Regions from separate parts of the Homo sapiens genome. Here region 1 is linked to region 2. The links are contacts of gene promoters, found by promoter capture Hi-C in blood cells and fetal thymus (Javierre and others, 2016). All regions are on one chromosome and are shown on one strand. The core of a region is centred on a gene start or on the middle of the fragment in contact, and the rest is flanking DNA. Distances in the headings are between cores, read along the strand shown. Region 1 overlaps LOC107986749 (a long non-coding RNA gene). Region 2 holds the start of SVOPL (SVOP like).

Region 1 (4,933 bases), core at 2-2,501, 530 kb before region 2:
CTAGCATAAAGAATATACAAATTTATGCATTTGGGGGAGGTCTTCCTTTCCTTATGAAGGCTTCCATACCACGTATAAATAATATGTGTATGATTTTCTCTTGTGAATCTGTATTTTGTTATAGGGGCCTCAGCCATGAACCTAGAGATTAGTGAGCAAAAATTATTTTTTTCTCAAGTGTTTCTTGCTTGAGATGATTTTCTTATCCCCAAGATTAAAATATTATGTGTTTCTTCCATGATTTTTATGGTGTTTATATCTATTTCTTTAATCTTTCTAGAATGTACTTTTGTACATGCTGAAAGGTAGAATTAATTTTGCAAAAAGGAAAAAGCTACTTGCTACTTTTACTATAATTATAATTATATAATTATTATTAAGGTTTTTTCTTTCTTCTTTCTTTTTTTTTTTTTTTTTTTTTTTTTTTTTTTTTTGAGATAGGGTCTCACTCTGTCACCCAGGCTAGAGTGTAGTGGTGCAATCTGGGCTCACTGCAACCTCTGCCTCCCAGGTTCAAGTGATCCTCCAAACTCAGCTTCCCAAGTAGCTGGGACTACAGGCATGTGCCACCACAATTATTATTTCATTAGACCCTCTCTGGATCTTGTTCCATCTCTAATATCTCTGCCAAATGCTCCGAATCAGGTAGATATATTTAAATTCTAGCTGGTGCAAAGAAGGAATAATTTGAAAAAGAAGAAATAATTTTAATGCACATGCAAGTAATATACGTATTCATCTAGTTACTTGCATGCATTTGTGGCCAAAAGCCATGAATCATATAAAGAAGTAGCTGCAGCCAGGCACGGTAGCTCATGCCTGTAATCCTAGCACTTTGGGAGGCCAAGGGCGGGGGAGGGGGTGGATTACCTGAGGTCAGGAGTTCGAGACCAGCCTGGCCAACATGGTGAAACCCTGTCTTTACTAAAAATACAAACATTAGCTGGTCATGGTGGTGGGTGCCTATAATCCCAGCTACTTGGGAGGCTGAGGAGAATTGCTTGAACCCAGCAGATGGAGGTTGCAGTGAGCTGAGATTGTGCCACTTTACTCCAGCCTGGGTGAAACAGCAAAACTCCATCTCAAAAAAAAAAGTAGCTTCAATGCTGTTTTCAAGATACTTAAGCCAATTTGGTCATACACCCTTATTAGTTGCTTTATGATTAGCTCTCCAAAGCTTCCAGTAATTAGAATTTGGTGACAACCATAGAGACTTCAATTCCAAATGGTATGTTATAATGAAAGCAAATTTCAGACCTCATTCAGCCATGGGTATAAATATGTATTAGCAATCAGGCCCTCCAAATAGTCATACTACCCGTTTTATAAGCTTGATGAAGTCTTAGCTCTCTGACCTTTCAGTGTTCCCACAGAACCTTATGAGCGTCAGAGACAGGAGGACCATGTTCCAGCTTTGGAGCAGGATTAACTAACTCTCAAATGAGAGTCAGGTGAAAAATTCTCTCACTACAGTCTAGAATTTCAAGCCTGGAGAGATAATTCAAACAGTCTAGAATTTCAAGCCTGGAGACATAATTCAAAATGAATAGACAGGCTAGCTGGACTTTTACACCTCATTTATGCAAAGGCAAGAGTATCCATAAGACATTTTTATCCAATCCACATAAAATTGAATTCATTTTACCAGTAAAAAATCATTTCTAACATCCCTTATGCTAATTAACAAACCCCCTGGGATTGATATGAGATAAAGACGACTGGAGCCATAATCTAATCCTTCTGGAATGTGGCTTCTGAATGGAGAATTTCTTTTTTTGTGTGTGAGATGAAGCCTCACTTTGTTGCTGAGGCTGGAGTGCAGTGGCACGATCCCGGCTCACTGCAACCTCTGCCTCCCAGTTTCAAGCGATTCTCCTGCTTTAGCCCCCACCAAGTAGCTGAAATTACAGACATGAACCCAATGCCTAGCTAATTCTTTTTTTGAATTTTTAGTAGAGACGGGGTTTTGCCATGTTGGCCAGGCTGGTCTCGAACTCCCGACTTCAAGTGATCCACACCCACCTTGGCCTCACAAAGTCCCGGGATTACCTGCGTGAGCCACCAAGCCAAGCCTGAACTGACAATTTCAAATATTAACCTACCATCCAGGAGTATATTTTTCCTGAGAGAGTTCAGAAATATCACCCCAAAATATGCAGCATTGGTATGCTGATTACTTCAAACTGAAGTCATTTGGGAAATGCCAAACGCACAGAGGGGCTTTTCCTGAATTTCCCTTATCTGACTAAGTGCAGATTCTCCAGAAGGAAGCCAATTGTCAAGAAATGCTTCCTGGGGATTTTTATCTATCCGTGAAGATTAACACACAACAGAAGTCAAACCTAGAAAAAGCTGGAGGTTAGCACCTCCTACAGACAGGATATAACCTATTCTTCTGAAGGCTGATTCGTACTTTTCATAATCATTTACTCTCCCTAGGTTGCCTACATACTCCCCTTCCCTCTCTCTTATGAAGGGAATATAAAAGCTTTTAGGTCTCATTGAGTTATTGGGTAGTTTCTTAACTTCCATGTGATGCCTTTCTGCATGTTAATAAAATGTATATATATATTTTTTTCTCCTTTTAATCTGTCTATTGCCAGCTTATTTCCCCAGACTTTCAGCCTCAAATCTTCAGAATGGAGGAGAGGACTTCCTTCACCCATATATCCAAATTATGTAACTCCCTGATGGGTTCTCCTTGCCTGCTGCACACACAAAATCAACTCTCTGAGACCATGCCATTGCAGTAAAGAAAAGAGTTTGATTGACACAAGGCTGGCCACACCACACAGGAGACTGTTATCACTCAACTCAATCTCCCCAAAGGCTCAAAGATTAGGGTTTTTCCCAGGATCTTTTGATGAGCAGGGGCCTAAGGTAGGGGCATACTGATTGGTTGGGTCAGAGATGAAATCATAGGGAATCAAAGCTGCCCTCTTATGGTGGGTAAGTTCCTGGGTTGGGGCCACAGGACTGGTTGGCAGGTCCAGGTGGGGCCATCCATTGTCAGAAATGCAAAAACCTGAAAAGACATCTCAAAAGGCCAGTCTTAGTTTCTACAATAGTGATGTTGTCTGCAAGAGTAATTGGGGAAGTTGCAAATCTTACGACCTCCATAATAATGGCTGGTAATTATTTAGAATTTAAGCCCCTCTCATCCTCCTAACTTCATGGCCTTTCATTAGTTTTACAAGAATCGTTTAGTTTTGGGGGAAGGTTATTATCATTTAAACTATAAACTAAGTTTCTCCCAAAGTTATCTTGGCCCACACCCACGAATGAGCAAAGCCAGCCAGCCTGTGAGGCTAGAAGCAAGATGCAGTCAGCCACGTCCAATTTCTCTGTCATACTTTTGCAAAGCCAGTTTCAGTCAGGGCTCTTCAAATGCCCAACTAACTATTCCTAAGTAAAGAATGAAAGCAACTAGAACACATCACACCACACTATCCATGCTGAAGCATTTTAAAGTAAACGTAAAGATAATCTAATGTACAGACACCTTCATTTTTCCCATGGTGATTTCTCTGGGATATTGTTTTGTATTTCCCTGTCTGACTTGTGGCAACATCTGTATTTCTGTAATTATAAAAGGTAAGACTCACTATTTGACTTTGAGAGGAACATTTGAGACGGCACGGTGGCTCAAGCCTGTAATCCCAAAGCTTTGGGTGGCCAAGGCAGGTGGATCGCCTGAGGTCAGCAATTCAAGAACAGCCTGGCCAACATTGTGAAACCCCATCTCTACTAAAAATATAACAATTAGCCAGGTGTAGTGGTGCATGTCTGTAATCCCAGCTACTCTGGAGGCTGAGGCAGGAGAATCGCTTGAATCTGGGAGGTGGAGGTTGCAGTCAGCCAAGATTGTGCCACTGCACTCCAGCCTGGGTGACAGAGTGAGACTCAGTCTCAAAAAAAAAAAAAAAAAGAACATTTGATTAAGGCCTGGGGATTGCTATGGGAGCCCAAATCCACTTTTGTCTTAGCCTCAGCCATTATGAATAACAAACACCCTCTTCTCAACAGTCTGTGATTCCCATGGGGAGGCTGGATGTTGGGAAAGCTGCCTCTCTCAGTTTGGCTTATTTGTTGGCTTATCAGAATCTTCTAAAGGAAAAGACCTCTCCTGTTCTTTCTCCTAGGAGGAAAAATTACTAGTCATCTTCCCAAATGTAGCACCCTTAGATTGCATTCCCATAAAGATTTCTCTCTAGCTTCTGTATTTTCTCACCCTGTTGACCTTAATCAGTAACAAAGGCTTTTATAATACTACTACTGCATTGCCCCCGACCTCAAGTTTAGAAACTCCTTAGCTCCCTTGCCTCTGGGCAGGTCTGTCTATTGCATTGCACAAAAGAAGAAGAAAGAAAGAGTAGAGAAAGGAATGTCTAGCCCTAAGCTTTCTTTTGCATTTGTATGCTTGGTGGCCTCGGAATCCCCCAAAGCAGTCAAAGGTAAATAATCCTTTGGTCTTTTCTTCCTTTGTTCTCTGAACTGAGACTTTACTCCCGAGGAGATTTTCTTCTCAGATTAGACTTGGAGAGGTCTTTTTTTTTCTCCTTTGCTTAGATGATTTGAACTGATAATTTGCATCTACAAAGGCAACTGAGAAATACTGAATGACTAACACTCCCACAGAAGACTCTGTGGAGGCGCTCCATTCTGTAATCTTTCCTCTGCTCCAGGAGACCTCCAAAGTAAATGGAAACCAAAAAGCAACATTTTCAGGGCCAAGTTTATTTTAATATTGTCTCTGGATACTTCTCTTTACAATCAATCAGGTTTTAAGTCACCAACCTTAAAACCAGCACTCCTCTCCTCTGGTTTAAAAAAAAAAAATCAGATAATTTTAACAAAAATAAACAAACAAGACATAGGATTTTAAAAAAATTAACTCCCTATTACAAACAAAAGAAGGGCAATGTAGTAAAGG
Region 2 (4,702 bases), core at 212-2,711:
ATTTGCCAAGAGGGGGAAGAAACAAACGTACAGGTTTACCTGCAACAGAGAAAGTCCTCATTCCCACCCTATTAGGATACAGAGTTTTCAACAACAGGATTCCTTTGGTGGAGCAAGTTGCAGGGCACAGGGCTGTTGGCAGGAGATTATCAGGATTGTAGCGTTCACATCTGTACCTTGGAAAGGGGCTTACTCTCCAAGTCATTAAAAGGACACTCAAACACAAACTCAAAGTTAGTTAGCATATATATGAAATGTATTTTCTTGGTAGTCTCTAGAGTTTCAGCCAAAAGCTACATGAAGAAAGAAGAGAACAACATGTTTGAGAGATGGAGATGAGGAACATTATTGAGAGATAGAGCTTGCAATCTTAACTCAGCAATGGAATGCTGGAAAGGCTGAATTGACATACTCTGTTCTTTGGTTCCGTATGTCTTTTTTTTTTTTTTTTTTTTTGAGACAGAGTCTTACTCTGTTGCCCAGGCTGGAGTGCCGTGGTGTGATCTTGGCTCACTGCAACCTCTGCCTCCCGGGTTCAAGCGATTCTTCTGCCTCAGCCTCCTGAGTACCTGGGATTACAGGCACCCACCACCATGCATGGCTAATTTTTTTGTATTTTTAGTAGAGACGGGGTTTCACCATCTTGGTCAGGCTGGTCTTGAACTCCTGACCTTGTGATCCACCCACCTCAGCCTCCCAAAGTGCTGGGATTACAGGCGTGAGCCACCGCACCCGGCTGGTTTCCTGTGTCATTCTAAATCCTTTCTAACCCAGTAAGAGGATGGATGGATGGATGGATGGATGGATGGATGGATGGCAGATGGATGATCAGTTAGACCAACTCAGGAAAATAGGGAATAACATGGAAAAGAATGCTTCGCGTCCCTCACTATAAGTTCCTAAAAAGCTACAATGGGAAAGTAATCCATGACCTACCTTCACAAAACCTGGTGAGAAACTGATAGATTGGGGATTTTCCCTGAACTCAGATGGAGTTCAAGCTTCATTAAAACAAATTCTAAAGGACTGATTGACATTTTATTCTATTGTATTTTGTTATACTGATTGTTTTTTAACCAGAAATAATTGGGCCACAGTAGATCTTTTTTAAACTGAGTTTTGTGTGTGATGTGTGATGTAATTTGTTTTGCAATATCCAAGGAAATTTTCATGCTCCATTTGCCTTCGGCCACAAACTAACAGTCAATGCCCCACCCCACCCTCTACAGCAGCAGGAAAAAATAAGTCCAGATCAATGTTGCCCACAAATTTCTCACCTCTGTATATTCCTTGGACAGTCTTCCAATTTCAGGCTCTTTTGCTCCCCTCACCGTGGCCAAGTCTTAGACGGAAATTGGAGCACAGATGGCTTCTCAGGGGTGGCCAGACTTGTGTTCCCAAGACGCCTGGCTCCCTGGTCTTATCCTCTCCTTTCAGGTCGGGTCTCAGATCAGGATTCTTTAAGGGCCAACTTCGCATTCTGGGCAAGTGAATGACACCTAGGGCACACCCTCTTCTCAGCAGCCTGCACTTGATCTCCTTTTAAAGGGGAAATTACATTTCTTGTTAAGACTGAAAGAGGCTGCCGAACTTTGGAGGAAATTACTATGTTGTTCTCAGGACAGCTGGAAGAATTTCTGAAAGAGAAGACCTAGGCAAGGGGCAGAGGGAAGCTTTGCCCTTGCAAACATTTGCTCACAGCCATTGCTTAGAATTAAGGAGCAGGTTCATGCCCATCCTGTCAGCCATATCCTGCAGGGTGGCAGGCATGCTGTAGCCCCTGGTATAGGCCATGGTGCCTGCCACCCTGAAGCTGCCTGTGCTGTACAAGAGCAGCCTTTGCTATGCCAGGAGTCACTGAGTGGCCAGGCCATGAGCCTGTCTTGGGTCAACTCTGTGGGCCTCAATGTCCCTGCTTCTGTTCGTTATTCCCATACAGACATCAATGTGCCTGACTTCCCTGATTACTGTTGCATTGAGATTTTTGATGGGACAAAGTCTTCAAAAGAGGATGGCGAGGCTAGGAAAGGGTTCTCCTATTTGGTAACTGCAACAACTGCTGTGGGTGTCACATATGCTGCCAAGAATGTCATCTCCCAGTTTGTTTCCAGCATCAGTGCTTCTGCTGATGAGTCGGCCGTGTCGAAAATTGCAATCAAGTTATTTGATATTCCAGAAGGCAAGAACATGGCTTTCAAATGGAGAGGCAAATCCCTGTTTGTATGCCACAGAACCAAGAAGGAAATTGACCAAGAACCTGCAGTTGAAGAGTCCCAGCTGAGGGCCCATAGCATGATTTAAGGGCCAGGCACAGTGGCTCATGCCTGTAATTCCAGCACTTTGGAAGGCCGAGGTGGGCAGATCACTTGAGGTCAGGAGCTCAAGACCAGCCTGGCCAACATGGCGAAACCCCATCTCTACTAAAAATACAAAATTAGCCAGGCGTGGTGGCATGTGCCTGTAATCCCAGCTACTCGGGAGGCTGAGGCAGGAAAATCACTTGAACCTGGGAGGCAGAGGTTGCAGTGAGCCGAGATTGCACCATTGCACTCCAGCCTGGGCAACACAGTGAGAATCTGTCTCAAAAAAAAAAAAAAAAAAGAAGAAGAAGAAGAAGTAAAGGATGGGCCGGGAGTGGTGGCTCACACCTGTAATCCAAGCACTTTGGGAGGCCAAGGCGGGTGAATCACTTGAGGTCAGGAGTTCAAGACCAGCCTGGCAAACATGGTGAAACTCCGTCTCTACTAAAAATACAAAAATTAGTCAGGCGTGGTGGTCCATGCCTGTAATCCCAGCTACTCGGGAGAATGAGGCAGGAGAAGTGCTTGAACCTGGGAGGCGGAGGTTGCAGTGAGCCAAGATCGCGCCACTGCACACTCCAGCCTGGGAGAGAGAGTGAGACTCTGTCTGAAAAAAAAAAAAAAAAGATAAAAAAGGAGTAAAGAATGAGTGCAATGCCTATCAGGGTAACCCATTCGAGTTTCTTTACTAGGCGTTTGCATTCATCCTGTTGTACACCTATTGCAAATGAAGATTTTGGTGGTGATTACTGCCCTTGCTGGGGGTCACACAGATGCATCTGGGAGGATCTGGAAGGGGCCTGCCCCTCTTGAGCTTGGAGCTCCCTCATATGGGTTCACCAGTGAGGACACAGTCATTGTTGGTTAGAGACTGGGACTCAAGTTGTAGGCTCCTTTCAGTCTTTGCGTCACTGTAGAAGAGTTATTTGAGAGCAAGCCTTCTGAACTTCAAGTTGCTTGATTTGAAATATTTAAGAAGTGATAATGTATTTGCAAACATTACTGTGAAGTAAATTGAATTTAATGTTGAATACGTTCAAGCATTCACTTAATAAAACAACTGTTAAACACTGTTACACTGTCATACACTTGAAAGGTGCAATGTCTTTTAGGTAGTTCTAATTTTTTACTTTAAAAAAATTTTTTGTTTTTATTTTTTTGAGATGGTGTCTCGCTCTGTCTCCCAGGCTGAAGTGCAGTGGCGTGATCTCGGCTTACTGCAACCTCCGCCTCCCGGGTTCAAGTGATTCTCCTGCCTCAGCCTCCTGAGTAGCTGGGATTACAGGCATACACCACCATGCCTGGCTAATTTTCATACGTTCAGTAGATGAGGAGTTTCACCAGTTGGCCAGGCTGGTCCCAAAATCCTGGCCTCAAGCAATTCACCCACCTCGACCTCCCAAAGTGCTGGGATTACAGGCGTGAGCCACCATGCCTGGCCTAATTCTAATTTAAAACTACACAGTGGTATATAAAAATTAAAAAAAAAATAGACTTAAGGATCAACAGGCTGGTGATCCATTTAAGCACAGGGTTCTTTTTAGATAGTTGTTGAGAAGGACATTTGTGAGCTGAGAACCTGAAAATCGTCCAGTGGCCATGGCAGCATGGGATTGGTAGATTTCTTATCCCTCCATTTGCATGCTGTCTTAGTCTATTCTCCCAGTTCAACCATCACTGACAGTATCTCCTCCACACCCAGGGCTTTACAACCACCTTTTCTACAGTCCAGAGAGGTGGAGATCATTATTTCCATTCGGCAATGAGGGGAACAACTCCATTTCTTTCCTGAGGGCACTCATGATAAAGCATCAAAGTTGGGACTCAAACATGTACACCTTCTGACCTTAGCTATCATTCTTTTGCTCAATCTCATTAAGTGAATATTGAGCATCTAATATGTGCCTTCCACTGTGCTGGAAAAGTCATGATACTGACATGGAAGGTGACACAGAAGCTTCCTTTTAGGTTTGAGCAATGCCGCTTCCATGAGCACCAATCAGCTTTACCACACACAGGGCACGTAGGCACTTAAAAAACAGGGTCTCATCCAAAGCATATTTTGAATTTAATCAGCTCTTTTAGAACTTTACTAACAATGAAAATTTAGAACTGGCCAGATGCGGTGGCTCACACCTGTAATCCCAGCACTTTGGGAGGCCAAGGCGGGCGGATCACTTGAGGCCAGGATTTCGAGACACCAGCCTGGCCAACACAGTGAAACCACGTCTCTACTAGAAGTACAAAAATTAGCCATGCATGGTGGCGGTTGCCTGTAATCCCAGCTACTCAGGAGGCTGAGGCTGGAGATTGCTTGAACCTGGGAGGCCGGAGGTCACAGCGAGCTAAGATTGCACCACTAAACTCCAGCAAGTCCCTGAGACAGAGTGAGGCCCTGTCTC

What was found. The method cuts DNA at HindIII sites, captures the fragments that hold promoters and counts their contacts. A CHiCAGO score of 5 or more calls a contact.
Region 1: a contact is called between a fragment that was not itself captured here and the fragment with the promoter of SVOPL in region 2, in 10 of 17 cell types (naive CD4 T cells, non-activated CD4 T cells, naive CD8 T cells and 7 more). The highest score is 9.7, in naive CD4 T cells.

What each region holds. Positions count from the first base shown.
Region 1 is chr7:138,165,153-138,170,085 of GRCh38, forward strand. It overlaps LOC107986749 (a long non-coding RNA gene), which reads left to right. Exons shown (of 3, transcript XR_001745033.3): 3 at 1-333. Among named protein-coding and RNA genes, the nearest start is that of MIR4468, 44 kb to the left of the region's middle. RefSeq lists an enhancer at 4,017-4,887. The HindIII fragment of the contact is 153 bases long and covers 1,176-1,328 here.
Region 2 is chr7:138,699,901-138,704,602 of GRCh38, forward strand. It overlaps SVOPL (SVOP like), which reads right to left and starts at 1,462. Exons shown (of 16, transcript NM_001139456.2): 1 at 1,278-1,462. It also overlaps the pseudogene UQCRFS1P2. The HindIII fragment of the contact is 672 bases long and covers 1,000-1,671 here.